Linked DNA regions of Homo sapiens: region 2 is linked to region 1. The links are contacts of gene promoters, found by promoter capture Hi-C in blood cells and fetal thymus (Javierre and others, 2016). All regions are on one chromosome and are shown on one strand. Each heading gives the region's core, a stretch centred on a gene start or on the middle of the fragment in contact. The rest is flanking DNA. Distances are from core to core; before and after follow the strand shown.

The links. The method cuts DNA at HindIII sites, captures the fragments that hold promoters and counts their contacts. A CHiCAGO score of 5 or more calls a contact.
Region 2: a contact is called between the fragment with the promoter of TADA1 here and the fragment with the promoter of ALDH9A1 in region 1, in 1 of 17 cell types (M1 macrophages). The highest score is 7.6, in M1 macrophages.

What each region holds. Positions count from the first base shown.
Region 1 is chr1:165,694,930-165,701,585 of GRCh38, forward strand. ALDH9A1 (aldehyde dehydrogenase 9 family member A1) reads right to left here and starts at 3,633. Exons shown (of 11, transcript NM_000696.4): 1 at 3,449-3,633; 2 at 323-468. The coding sequence starts at 3,629. It also overlaps the pseudogene CA14P1. RefSeq lists enhancers at 3,369-3,598, 3,442-4,024, 3,889-4,068 and a silencer at 3,629-3,818. The HindIII fragment of the contact is 1,150 bases long and covers 3,465-4,614 here.
Region 2 is chr1:166,872,658-166,879,841 of GRCh38, forward strand. TADA1 (transcriptional adaptor 1) reads right to left here and starts at 3,607. Exons shown (of 8, transcript NM_053053.4): 1 at 3,503-3,607. The coding sequence starts at 3,576. RefSeq lists silencers at 3,064-3,463, 3,494-3,543 and an enhancer at 3,944-3,993. The HindIII fragment of the contact is 11,749 bases long and covers 1-7,184 here.

The DNA.
Region 1 (6,656 bases), core at 2,383-4,882:
TGGGCGACAGAGCAAGATTCCGTCTCAAAAAAAAAAAAAAATAAAAATAAAAAAAGGACGATGAGCTATAAAGAGTGCATTATAATTCAAAACAAAGCTTTACAAACATGAAAACCTGCCAAAGGAGATGTCCAAGAGCCAACATCCAGATGGGAAGTATTGAACAAAAACTTGTTTTATATACTAAGGTGAGCATGTGGAAATGTTTTTCCATTTTATAAAAACGTTACGGCCTAATGTTGCAACAAAGTCGAACTGCAAACATCACAAAGAAACCTCAGAGCAATGTCTGAGTTCTGGAAGGAAATAAATTGGAACATACCCTTATTATCCTGGCAGCCTCCAAAAGGATTCGGCAACGCTCCATGCCAGATTTTTGACTCCATATTTTAAAAGCAGCCTTTGCATTTTGAACAGCCAAATTTACTTCCTTTTCTCCTGAACATGTGAAAGTAGCTATCACTCGGCCTATAAAGAGCGGAAACATCAGTTTTAACTCAAATTGTTGCCACATATTTAAATAAAATATTATCTATCAATATTCTCTTAGTAGTAGTCTTTTTTTTTTTTTTTTTTTTTTTCTTGAGATGGAGTCTTGCTCTGTCACCCAGGCTGGAGTGCAGTGGCGCGATCTCGGCTCACTGCAACCTCTGCCTCCTGAGTTCAAGCGATTCCCCTGCCTCAGCCTCCTGAGTAGCTGGGACTACCAGTGCACGCCACTACGCCCAGCTAATTTTTTGTATTTTTTAGTAGAGACCGGGTTTCACCATGTTGACCAGGATGGTCTTGATCTCCTGACCTTGTGACCCACCCGCCTCAGCCTCCCGAAGTGCCGGAATTACAGGCGTGGGCTACCGTAACTTCTTGTTTTTATGTATGGTTTGATTTAGTGACCATCTCTATACTAGCAGGTTTTTTTGTTTTGTTTTTTTGTTTTTTAAGACGGAGTCTCGCTCTTGTTACCCAGGCTGGAGTGCAATGGCACGATCTTGACTCACTGCAACTTTTGCCTCCTGGGTTCCAGCAATTCTCCTGCCTCAGCCTCCCGAGTAGCTGGGATTACAGGCGCCTGCCACCACACACAGCTAATTTTTGTATTTTTAGTAGAGACGGGATTTCATCATGTTGGCCAGGCTGGTCTTACATTCCTGACCTCAAGTGATTCACCCACCTCTGCCTCCCCAAGTGCTGGGATTACAGCCATGAGCCACCACACCCGGCCTAGCAGTTCTTAACTGTATTTTGCGGTCATTGACATTAGGAGTCTGATAAAAGTTGCAGACCTCTCTCCAGAAAAATCTACTTAAACATATAACAGAATTACAGGAATGTCATGTCCCCTGCCCTAAACTCATCAAGGATTTAGAGTTAAGAACCCCTGCCCTCTACTATTTTACAGTTGAGTTTACTAACATTAACTTCTGATTAAGTTTTGCAACACTCCTAAACATTATCTCAGAATCTCAGGGGTCTTGTAAAATGAAAGTCAAAAGTAATCAGTCTATTGGGTTATAAACTCTGACTGTAAATCCCTTGTCTATATTCTATGTAGGTTATATCATACTACTTGATACTTGATAAATATAGTTAATAAGCAGTAATATCAGGATAAGGCAACCCTAAAGGAACATTTTTTTTTTCTCAAAAATTCCCAGATTTCCTTTTCTTATTCCACCTTTATTCCCTCTCCCTATTCTGGTGCAAATTATGAAACAATCAGTTTTTCTAGGCCCATAGCCCAAGGACTGTACTGCCTCTACCAACAAGAATTCTTTAAGTTTGCCAACTCAGCAAATCCTCTTCACAAGAACTCCTGGGACTCTTTCCAGGGAGATTTCACAAATCTGCAATTTCTGTTACAAACTTGAATAGCCAGCTGGTAAAGGCGGTGGCTGAGGATCACACACACTGTAGGCAATTAAAGCAAAGAGCAATTTTTCTTTCTTTTGTATCAGGATTAAGTCGGGGTAGAGAAGCTGTTTCCTCCTATATAAAGAAGAGATGTGATAATGCCTTCTGGCTCTGCCAAGTCACTGCTCTGTGGTTTAGTGTGGATGGTCAAATACTAAATTCTCCAGTCCCCTGCAAATCAGTTTTATTGCTCTGGCTACATTTTACACAAAATATTTACATTTTTCTCCCCACATATATTCCATAAAACCCAGCAAAATAAACACAACACAAAACCAAAACAAAAAGCCCCTTCTTCCTTATCTCTGTGACCTTCAGAGTTCCCAGAGTAAATCCAGTGCCTAGCACAGTGCTTAGCACACATTAAGCACTGGATTAAAAAGTTTTATTTCAGCAAGATGAATAAATTGTGGAGAGCTCACGTAGACCATGGTGACTATGGTTACCAATACTGCATCATATACTTGAAATTTGCTAAAAGAATAGATCTTAAATATTTCACTATCCAAAAAAAGCCATTAACTATGCAGAAGCAATGGATAATTAGATTGACCGTGGTAACCATTTTGCAAGGTATACATACATTACAACACGTTTTACACCTTAAGTATATACAATTTTTATTTGTTAATTATACTTCAATAAAGCTGGGGAAGAAAGTACTGAATAAAGGTGGGGTTTTTTCCTTTCCCAATTCTGATTAATGTGCAGAAATATTTTAATATTAGAATGTGGAGACAAAGTCCTCATTCGTAGTCATTAGAAACTATCTGTGAGCGTTCCTTCATTCCCAGCACAAATGATTATCTTCCCCACAACCCCGCCCCGTTCTTTTAGAATTCCTCTCCTATGCACACATTTGAAGACAATAATACATCAGTCCTGGTTTTAAAAGGGGGAACAGTTGGCTGGGCTTGGTGGCTCACGGCTGTAATCCCAGCACTTTGGGAGGCTGAGGCGGGAGGATCACCTAAGCTCAGGAGTTCGAGACCAGCCTGAGTAACATGCTGAAAACCCGTCTCTACTAAAAATACAAAAATTAGCCGGACATGGTGGTGGGAGCCTGTAATCCCAGCTACCAGGGAGGCTGAGGCGGGAGAAGCACTTGAGCCCGTAAGGTAGAGGGCGCAGTGAGCTCTGAGATGGTGCCCCTGCACTCCAGCCTGGGCGACAGAGTGAGACCCTGTCTCAAAACAAACAAAAAACAAACAAACAAACAAAACAAACAAAAAAGGAAGTTAACAGAGGCACGACTTCCCCCACCAGTACTTTGCGAACTCTGTTCTGGCCCGGGTAAAACAACTCACGATCCTACCACGCAACTCATCAGCTTTGCTTTTCCTCCCTACCCATCCCTGCCCGGAGGCACTCGCGTTGCCCCAGAATCGCTAGTTGCCTACACACACAACCTTAGACTCTCCACTGTCACTGTCTTGTGCTCAAGTCAACGCTGCAGAACACAGGAAACGGGGGCTGGCCGGGAAATCCGCGCATCCGGCCCCAGGGCGCCCCAGCCTCCCCGGCTCGTTGCAGTTACCGGTTGCTGGCTCGAAAGCTTTCTCGGTACCGGAGGCGTCCGCCGGCTCCACGCGGGCCCCGCCGCGGTAATTGAGCGGCTGCGACACGACGAAGGTGCCAGTGCTCATGGCGGCGACAGGAGAGGGCCGAAGACTGCGAAGAAGCGGGGAGAGCGCGGCCAGGCCTGCTCGGAGAAACATGAGTGGCGGACGCAGCTCCGCGGCAGAGGCTGACGGGCCGCGGGAGGGGCGGGGCCGCGGGAGGGGCGGGGCCGCGGGATCGGTTCTAGGAGATTTTAGGGGCAGTCACTCGATTCCTCTGCGGTCCAGGCCAGGCCCTCCCCTCGCCAGGAGGGTGGAGCAAGACACCACATTCTCCCCACCACCCCGCCATACCCCACACAGTCTCCAGGCGGGAAGAGGACTTCCTTCTTCGTGATCAATATTTGCGTAGCACTTTGCAAGTGTTTTCGGGTTCATCATTGCATGTAAGCATCCTAGGATCCCATTCTTAATCCTATCGCCTGAAGAAGGCAGAGGATTGGAGTGCCAAGAGTCTTTGGTGGTTACTTCACTGCTAAACCACCGTTTCTGTAATTGTATAATGCTTTTTAAAGGGTGACAGTAAAAAGCAAGGGGACTGTGAACGAGATAGATGATATTGTGATCTGAAACTGCTTTTTAAATTCTTAAAGAGAGACTGGGCGCTGTGGCTCTCACCAAGGCTGGAGGATCGCTTGAGCCCAGGAGTTTGCGGGCAACAGAGAGAGATCCCGTGTCTATAAAAAAATAAAATAAAAATAATAAAAATTGGGCCGGGCGCGGTGGCTCACGCCTGTAATCCTAGCACTTTGGGAGGCCAAGGCGGGCAGATCACCTGAGGTCAGGAGTTCGAGACCAGCCTGACCAAAATGGTAAAACCCCGTCTCTACTAAAAATACAAAAATTAGCTGGGTGTGGTGGCGGGCGCCTGTAATCCCAGCTACTTGGGAGGCTGAGGTGGGAAAATCGCTTGAACCCGGGAGACGGGTTGCAGTGAGCCGAGACTATGCCATTGCACTCCAGTCTGGGTGACAAGAGTGAAACTCAGAAAAAAAAAAAATTATCCAGGTGTGGTGGCACACGCCTGTGGCCCCAGGTACTTGGGCGGCTAAGGTGGGAGGATCCCCTGAGCCCCGGGGGTCCAAGCTTGCAGTGAGCTATAATCGTGCCACTGCACTCAGGCCTGGGCAACAGAGCGAGACCCTGTCTCAAAATAAATAAATTCTGAAGGAGCAATGTAAATGCTATTAATGACAAATATTGATAGAAACAGAAGCCTAACATACAGAATACGAAGAGCAAAGGCCACAGGAAAAAGTGTCAGGAAACAAAATGCCTTCTGTAAGACAAAGCAGCCACCCAGAGGCACTCACAGGTCTGTCAGCTGAGGGATCTTGCACAAAGGTTCATTCTTCTCACCAAACTTCCATGCACCTCCAGTAGAGACTTTGACAAACAGAAAGTAATTGGCAATTTGGACATTTCTTTTAGGATTGTTTCTCTTCTGGGGGCTGCTGTCTTTCTCAATGTTTTTTCCTTTACCTGCCAGCTCACCAGCGCAATATTAGGGAGTGTGGTTTTCAGGTTTAGAGTATATATAATGTATTCTGATCAAGTTTTCTGGCACTCTATACCAGTTTGTTCACTTTTTCAGTGCTACTGAGATGTGTAGGTCTTGGTCCTCAGATGGAAACAGCAGTGCCCAAACTCAGAATACCTGAGGCCACACTCACATATTATTTTATTATTGTCCATTGCAAACAGAATTGAAACATATCAGGAGTTGGTGACGAGCAGCACTATAGATTTCCAAGATCACTGAATGGTCATTTAGGTACAGAAACTATACGTCTCAAATTTTATGGGACAATTTCTATTTAAAAGATTCTGTCCCCAACCAATGCATTTTGACTTGTCACATCATAATTCCTGATGTTTGTTTTGGAAATGTGGTCGTGATGTCTATTGAATTAATTCATAGATGATAAGACTGACAAACCTCTGGCCAGGCACAGGACTCACACCTGTAATCTCAACACTTTGGGAGACCGTGGCAGGAGGATCGCTTGAGGCCAGGAGTTCAAGACCAGCCTGGGCAACATAGTGAGACTCTGTCTCTACAAAATATTTTTAAAAATTAGCCGAGCATGGTGGCACAAGCGTGTAGTCCTGACTACTCAAGAGACTGAGGTGGAGGATTGCTTGAGGCCAGGAGTTCAAGACTGGAGTGAGCGATCATGGCACCACTGCTCCAGCCTGGGCAACAGAGTAAGACCCTTCCCCAAAGAAAACAGATCTCCTCCAAAATATCTACCTTTTAAATATCTAGCTGTTCCTCTTACCTATCTGTGCTTTTATTATTAAATTATTATTTTTAACTTTTAGGTTCAGGGGTACATGTAAAGATTTGTTACATAGGTAAACTTGTGTCATGGGGGTGTGTTGTATAGATTATTTCATTACCCAGGTATTAAGCCTAGTACCCATGAGTTATTTTTCCTGATCCTCTCCCTCCTTCCACCCTTATTATTAGATTATTAATGTATTATTTTTCATTAGCAAAATCCAACATGTAGAAAGAGCTTTATAGGTTACAGAGCCCTTTCACATTTACTTTCTCACATGAAGCTCATAATAACCCTACAAAAGAAAAGGAAACTAACAGAGATTGAGCTAGGAGGTAGTATGTGGCACTTTGTCAAATATCTCAGTGACAATCATGCAAGATAGGTTTTATCATCCCCATTGTACAGATGAGGAAACTAATAGAAAGGTCGTAGAGCTTCCCCATAAAGGAGCTAAGGCTGGAGTCCAGCTCTGTGCAAGTCCAAAGTAAATTTCTTCTTACTACACCAGGTCGAGATGTTGACCCCATGAAGGTTGCTATCAAAATTCACTCTTATGTTGGTGGATATTTATCAGAAACCCAGAAATCTGGTTCTAGGGAGATTTAAAGGACATGTAAACTTCTTAGGATATTTGTCAGCACTACCCAGTAAGCAGCCCAGAAGTCACAGAGGATGCTGGCCAGTTTACAAGTTCAGGGTGAAATTCAAAGGGACAAAGATGCCACAAGGAGCAGAAGGAATGCCAAAAGAGAAACACCTCTTAGATGGGTGTGTGTTGGAGGGCAGATTTGGGGGTAAAAAGAGATAGAAAAGGAGTGGAATCATTGCTAAAGGGGTA
Region 2 (7,184 bases), core at 2,357-4,856, 1.2 Mb after region 1:
GCAAAACTCTGTCTCCAAAAAAAAAAACCAAAGTGATCTGCACATGCAGGTTCCCTTCACCTTCCACCATGAGTGAAGCCACCTGAGGCCCTCACCAGAAGATGCTGGTGCCATGCTTTTGGTACAGTCTGCAGACCTGTGAGCCAAACTAACTTCTTTATAAATTACCCAGCCTCAACTATTCCTTTATAGCAACACAGACTAAGGACAAATACCAAAAACAAAGCCAATCAATCCCTGTGAAGGTCAGGACAATGGGTAGAAGTATAAGTGGGTCAGATTACGAAGCACTGGATATACCTAAAGAATATTAAATAACATATGATCATGGCCGGACGCAGTGACTCACGCTTGTAAGCCTGGCATTTTGGGAGCCCAAGGGGGATGTGGATCACTTGAGGTCAGGAGTTCAAGACCAGCCTGGCCAACATGGCGAAACCCCGTCTCTACTAAAAATACAAAAATGAGTCGGACATGGTGGTGGGCGCCTGTAATCGCAGCTACTCAGGAGGCTGATGCAGGACAATCACTTGAGCCCAGGAGGTGGAGGTTGCAGTGAGCCGAGATCGCACCACTGCACTCCAGCCTGGGTGACAAAGTGAGACTCTCTCTCAAAATAAATAAATAAATGCATAAATAAATAACATATGATCAAATCCTCAAAAGAAATCAGGCACCTATTTGAACATGGCATTCTACTGGCTACTATACAAAGTGAGTTGCCTAGCAAAGCCCATGTCTTCCTGGAAGCAGCTTGGGCACACAACCCAACCAGTCAGACATGAAGGATGTTCAGACCACTGGATAAATAGCAAATAACTCATATCCAGCCTCCGTGCATAACCCTGTATGTTTTGCCTACCACCGAGGACCACACTTAAATAGGTTGTGCAAACCAAAGCAAACTGCTCATGGAGGAAATATAAGAAATGACTGTACAGTACAAGAGTATTACTGACTATTTAACCCAGAGGTACTTTTTAAGGAGAAGGGAAAAGAACAATGAGAGAATGGAAAAACAAATTTAGAACTATACGTTACCATTAACTGTTTCTGGCATAAAAATCTCTTTTGATTGCATTTTAGTGGGGATTCACACTCCAGATGCACCAAATTTAGCTTCAGCATCAGTATTTGACCAACATCAGACAGTCGGCTTTGGCCTTTAAAAACTAAATAAGGAATGCTAACTTCAAAAACACTTTTGGCAGCCCTGAACCTGTAACTGATGAGTATGGGATGACAGAGGTCACCATTGCATCTAATCAGGGTTAAAGGCAATCATACACAAGCCAGGTCCTTCAGATTTATTTTGGTATGTAAACGTTTGCTTTCAAATATTTGTAAGCATTCTAGATGGAACAGAGTGAAATGCCCCTTATGTGCTTAAAAATGTAAATTTTGGCTGGGCGCGGTGGCTCACGTCGGTAATCCCAGCACTTTGGGAGGCCAAGGCGGGTGGCTCACGAGGTCAGGAGTTCAAGACCAGCCTGGCCAAGATGGTGAAACCCCATCTCTACTAAAAATACAAAAATTAGCCGGGCGTGGTGGCAGGTGCCTGTAATCCCAGCTACTCAGGAGGCTGAGGCAGAGAAGTGCTTGAACCCAGGAGGTGGAGGCTGCAGTGAGCGGAGATCATGCCACTGCACCCCAGCCTGGACGACAGAGCAAGACTCCATCTCAAAAAAAAAAAAGGTAAATTTTATCAGTCGGTATTACAAAAGTAAAAAGCTACAGTAATTAGGGTGAAAGCTGTCAATTTTACCTATTAAAATAAGTAAGAATATTTAATTCAATAAGCACAGTGAACATCAATATCGAAAGACAATTTTCGGTGGTACACTATAGTCGGGTGTGGTGGCTCATGCCTGTAATCCCAGAACTTTGGGAGGCCAATGCGGGAGGACTGCTTGAGGCCAGGATTTGAGATCAGCCTGGGCAACACAGCAAGACTTTGTCTCTGAAAAAAAAAACTTTAGCCAGGATTAGCGGGGCGTGCCTACAGTCCCAGTTATAGGCTCACAGCAGGGGAGGATCTCTTGAGCTCAGGAGATCAAGGTTGCTGTGAACTGTGTGATCAGGCCACTGTACTTCGGCCTCTGCCACAGAGCAAGACCCCAACCCCCAAACACAAAGTGAAACATATCTCTGGGCGTAAATAAATGTTCACCAAAAATTAAATAATTATGCTAAAATAACAGTTTAGATTTTAATTTTAATCTTTTTATAGTTTCCATTATTATCTTGTTAGGATGAAAAGTAGACTGTCAACTCTGCCACCCCAAAATTTCACATGAAGGAAAAACTCCAAAATTCATGTATGACATCCAACCTAAGTAATTTCAATCCAGTAATAATAAAGAACAGAGAAGGATGAAAAGAAAGTATTGGAGAAAAATTAAGTATTCCCAAATTGCTCCTCCACCAACATCATTTAAAAGTATGCATCCACTGAGTAATGCAAATGTGTAGAATACCAGAGAAGCCATCTAGCAGCAACAACACAGGCACTGTAATTTTAAACGTTTATATTTGCTTCCTATATTTTTGAAAAATAAAGTTGTAATAACAACGTTTTGAAAATTTCCAAACTCTTCCTTGTATCCCAGAGGTTCCTTTTTTGCTCTTTGGCTTTGGCTTTGACTGGATACTGATTTTACCCTTGGCCATTCTGCACCTAACCTGACTGTGCACTAGGTCCCCTGCCATAACCTGGATGAAGGTCTGGCTGAGCGTCTCTGGGATCCTTTACAGCCCCTCTAATGCATCAGTCGGGAATCAAAAGCGTGGGTCCCAACTCTGACAGTGACTTTTGAAGAGTTACTTGTCCGCACTAGGTCTCAGTCTTCTCATCTGTCAAATGGGAATAACAACTGTACCTATCTCACATCTGTTGTAAGGATTAGATAATATATTTAGAGAGCTTAAAATGTTTAAAATGTCCGCTACTGCTATCATCACTATAATTGTAGTGTTCAATGACTGTGATTTCACCAGAGGGTCCGTCTGCCTTACGAAATTGCTGTCAAAAGAGCTTACCAATAATCCGTAGCAGATCACACCAGCTCAACAGGCCTCCACCTCCAGGAAGCCCTCCAGGGGCGGGCCGCCCTGCGCTATGCCCTCTGGCTGGACGCGTAGGGCTCCGGCTCACTCCGCCCAAGTCAGCCTCCCGCATCCCGCACGCCCGCGCTGGGGCCCGCACCTGCTCAGCAGGCCCTTGGGTGCGAAGTGCGCTTCTCCCGCCCCACCCAGGGCAGACAGTCCCGAGCAACGGCGCCCGCCGATGTCTCCCGGGCGCCCAGGAGGCCCGGTCTCTCCAGGGCGGTGAGTTCAGGTGGCCCGCCCCGCCCCGGCCGGAGAAACCCCGAAGCCCCGCCGCCGCGGACTCCAGGCTGCACAGGCCCCCGGGCGACGCGGGCGTCTCCGGGGCGGGCTGGCAGCCCGAGGCCAGGAGAGCACCCGCGTGTTGGCCTGGACGCTGTGCTAGGGCAGCTCTTACTGTTTCACGTTGTCCCCCAGGGCCTCGCTTAAGTTCTTCTTGGCCGCCTCCAGCTCGCTCACAAAGGTCGCCATTGCTCCGCGTGTCTCAGCCCGACCGCAGACCGCCCGGCCACCGCGATCAACAACCCAAAAACCAACTCGGCGGAAGGCCTTGGCTCTGGAAGCTAAGCCGGCCGCCGTCAGTCCCGCCCCCAATCTCTCAGAAGTCGTTTGTTTGGTTTTCGGCTCCGCCCGCCTTTTCGCAGGGAAGGTGCCCGGCCAAACTCTGCTCTCTTCCTCCCGCCCCTCGAGTCACGTGATCCGCTTCACCTTGTCGCGCGCCCATCCTAAACCCGCGCGCCCCGCCTCGGCTGCAACGTTGCTGACAGGCTGGCGTGTCCCAAGCTCTTTCATTCTGTTACCGCTGGGGCAATTCCGAATTCAGCCTGCTGTTCTTCTGCCTGGAGGAGTACCTTACCCCTCCATTTAAAAAAGTAAATGCAGTATCAGTTTTACTCTTTCCTTGCCTTATTTTTCCCCGAGCACTAACCGTCTCATATGACATTTAGTTGATTTATCTTGTAAATGTTATGGCTCGAGGACAGGAGTTGTGTTTTATTCACTGTTACCCGCAATTCTCTAGAGCAGCGCCTGGCACATAGTGGATGCTTAATAAGTATTTGAGTAAATGAGGTAACTATGTAAAATTTGGAAAATACACAGAAAGATAAAGATAAAAAGAAGGAAAAAGTGTTTTACCACTCCCGGACAAACACTTAACTGAGAGAGATTTCTCCTTCACTTCGCACACTCCCATGACTTAAAATATTCTATGTTCAATTTTGCACGTTTTTAAACTTAAGGATTTATCTGTAGTATTACATTGTCTTTAGAATAATTTTAATGACAACATATTAAATACCCCCACAGATAGAAGGTACACAACTTGTTTCCCAATTGTTAGACTGTGTCCATTTCTTCTCTATTAAAAAGCAATACTGTAATATTGCTTTTGAAGCATATAGCATAATGAAGCAAAACTTCTTTATGCATAAAACTTTTCCTCCTTTAGGATTATTACTTTAGCATAGAGTCCCACACATAGAATTACTGGATCAAATGATGGGAATATTTATAAATGCCTTGGTGTATATTGTCAAATTGCCTCCCAAAGTTTTTTAAATAATCCTAGATAGCTTTTAGATCTTGTGTAATTTCTCCAAAGATGTCCCCTTAAGTTCATTCATTCAACTTCCTCACTGCCCAACCTAAACCCACAAGCCCTGTCCTGGCTGCAATGCCAGCCGGGCACCTTCTCTTCACTTGAATTCATACAGTGAGCTCCTATTATGTGTCTGGAACTCTTTGAGTACTGGAGATACACAGGTGAAAGGAGATACAAAGGTCAGGCAAAGTCTTCCTCTCTGTGTCAAAACTCTGGGTAAGTTTTGACACATTTAAAAAATATCCACTTAAGTTTTCCATGGCTCCCCACGCTCTGCTGAACAAATTCCAGACTCCAGCATTCAAATGTTCTCATGATCTGAACTCACCCTACCTGTGTACCTCACACACCACTGGCCTTCCCACATAACCCCACACTTGGACTCAGCATTCTAGTTAACTTGACTTTAACAAATCACATGGCTCTTCCCCTTTACGCATATCTCCTCTCTGCTGGTTTTGAGACTTATGGTTGGCTACCTCCATTTTTTTTGAATCAGGTTCAAACATATATATGAATCTATTCAAGGATCAAGTCAACAGGACTAGGAAAGGCTACAGATAGTTGGGTACATCTTCCAGGAAGAATCCCTGTTTCTCATTTGTCTCTAGCCACGAAGAAAGATAGGCCTCAAAGATTTTCTTTTTGAACCCATGCTTGACAATACTCATACGTCTAGCTCAATTAAATATCCCTTTCTCTCTCAGCACTTATACACCTATTAACACTAATTTTACTACAGTTTTTCAGTTAAATGTCCATTTAAACTGTAATGTTAGACAATATAATATACATAAATGGACATCTGACCAAACAATTTAATATTGAGAGGTGAAGCCGCCTGGGCTTCTGGGCTGGGTGGGGACTTGGAGAACTTTTCTGACTAAAGGATTGTAAACGCACCAATCAGCGCTCTGTGTCTAGCTAAAGGTTTGTAAACGCACCAATCAGCACTCTGTAAAAACACACCAATCAGCGTTCTGTGTCTAGCTAAAGGTTTGTAAACGCACCAGTCAGCACTCTGTAAAAACACACCAATCAGCATTCTGTGTCTAGCTAAAGGTTTGTAAACGCACCAGTCAGCACTCTGTAAAAACGCACCAATCAGCGCTCTGTGTCTAGCTAAAGGTTTGTAAACGCACCAGTCAGCACTCTGTAAAAACGCACCAATCAGCGCTCTGTGTCTAGCTAAAGGTTTGTAAACGCACCAGTCAGCACTCTGTAAAAACGCACCAATCAGCGCTCTGTGTCTAGCTAAAGGTTTGTAAACACACCAGTCAGCACTCTGTAAAAACGAACCAATCAGCGCTCTGTGTCTAGCTAAAGGTTTGTAAATGCACCAATCAGCACTCTGTAAAATGGACCAATCAGGATGTGGGCGGGGCCAAATAAGGGAATAAAAGCTGGGCACCTGAGCCAGCAGCGGGAATACAGTCTGGTGGCCTTCCATGCTGTGGGTGCTGTGTTCTTTCGCTCTTCATGATAAATCTTGCTGCTGCTCACTCTTTGGGTCTGCACTACCTTTACGAGCTGTAACACTCACTGTGAAGGTCTGCAGCTTTACTCCTGAAGTTAGCGAGACCACGAACCCACTGGAAGGAAGAAACTCAGGACACATATGAACATCTGAAGGAACAAACTCCGGACACACCATCTTTAAGAACTGTAACACTCACCGCGAGGGTCCACAGCTTCATCTTGAAGTCAGCGAGACCAAGAACCCACTGGAAGGAACCAATGCCGGACACAATATTATAAATGAATACCAAGCCAGGGGTGATGGCACATGCCTGTAGTCCCACCTACTGGGGAGGCTGAAGTGAGAGGATTTCTTGGGCCCAGGAGTTCAAGTCTGCAGTGAGCTATGAGAGCACCACTGCACTCCAGCTTAGGCAACAGAGTGAGACCTCAACTTTAAAAAACAAATTTTTTTGAAAGGAAATGAATATTAAAACCACTTGTAATTTGGAAGGTTACTTTAAAGGAACTAATTCTAAATCTTTTATTATAGCAATATTTGTACAATGCATAGTGCAACTAATAAATAGCTTCAGAGAATGTGTGTCAAAATGCTTTATAAAGAGCAAGAAACTTGACAAATGTTTAGTCTAGTTTTTTTTTTTTTTTTTTTTTTTTTTTTTTGGATCATCCAGCTGGTTACAGGCTGGTTTGAGAGTAACTAGTAGAGTCAACTCAATAAGTTGCTGAGAACAGACATCTGAGGATCCAACCTTACCTGACATCTAAGTATTTATGAATATTTCTCCAAGTATATGGATTATGTGTGTAAATATGTGTATGTATTCTCCACTTATATAAAATAAAATTTCCTTTATATTATCCATATCTTTTTCCATTTCATTAGATAGATAACTGAAGGTTGGTGGTATTATTCATATACACTGCCTGTTTCTATACAACTTTTTTCCTTCATAAATATAATTCTGTACAAACAAAGGAAAACCCTCTAAAAAGT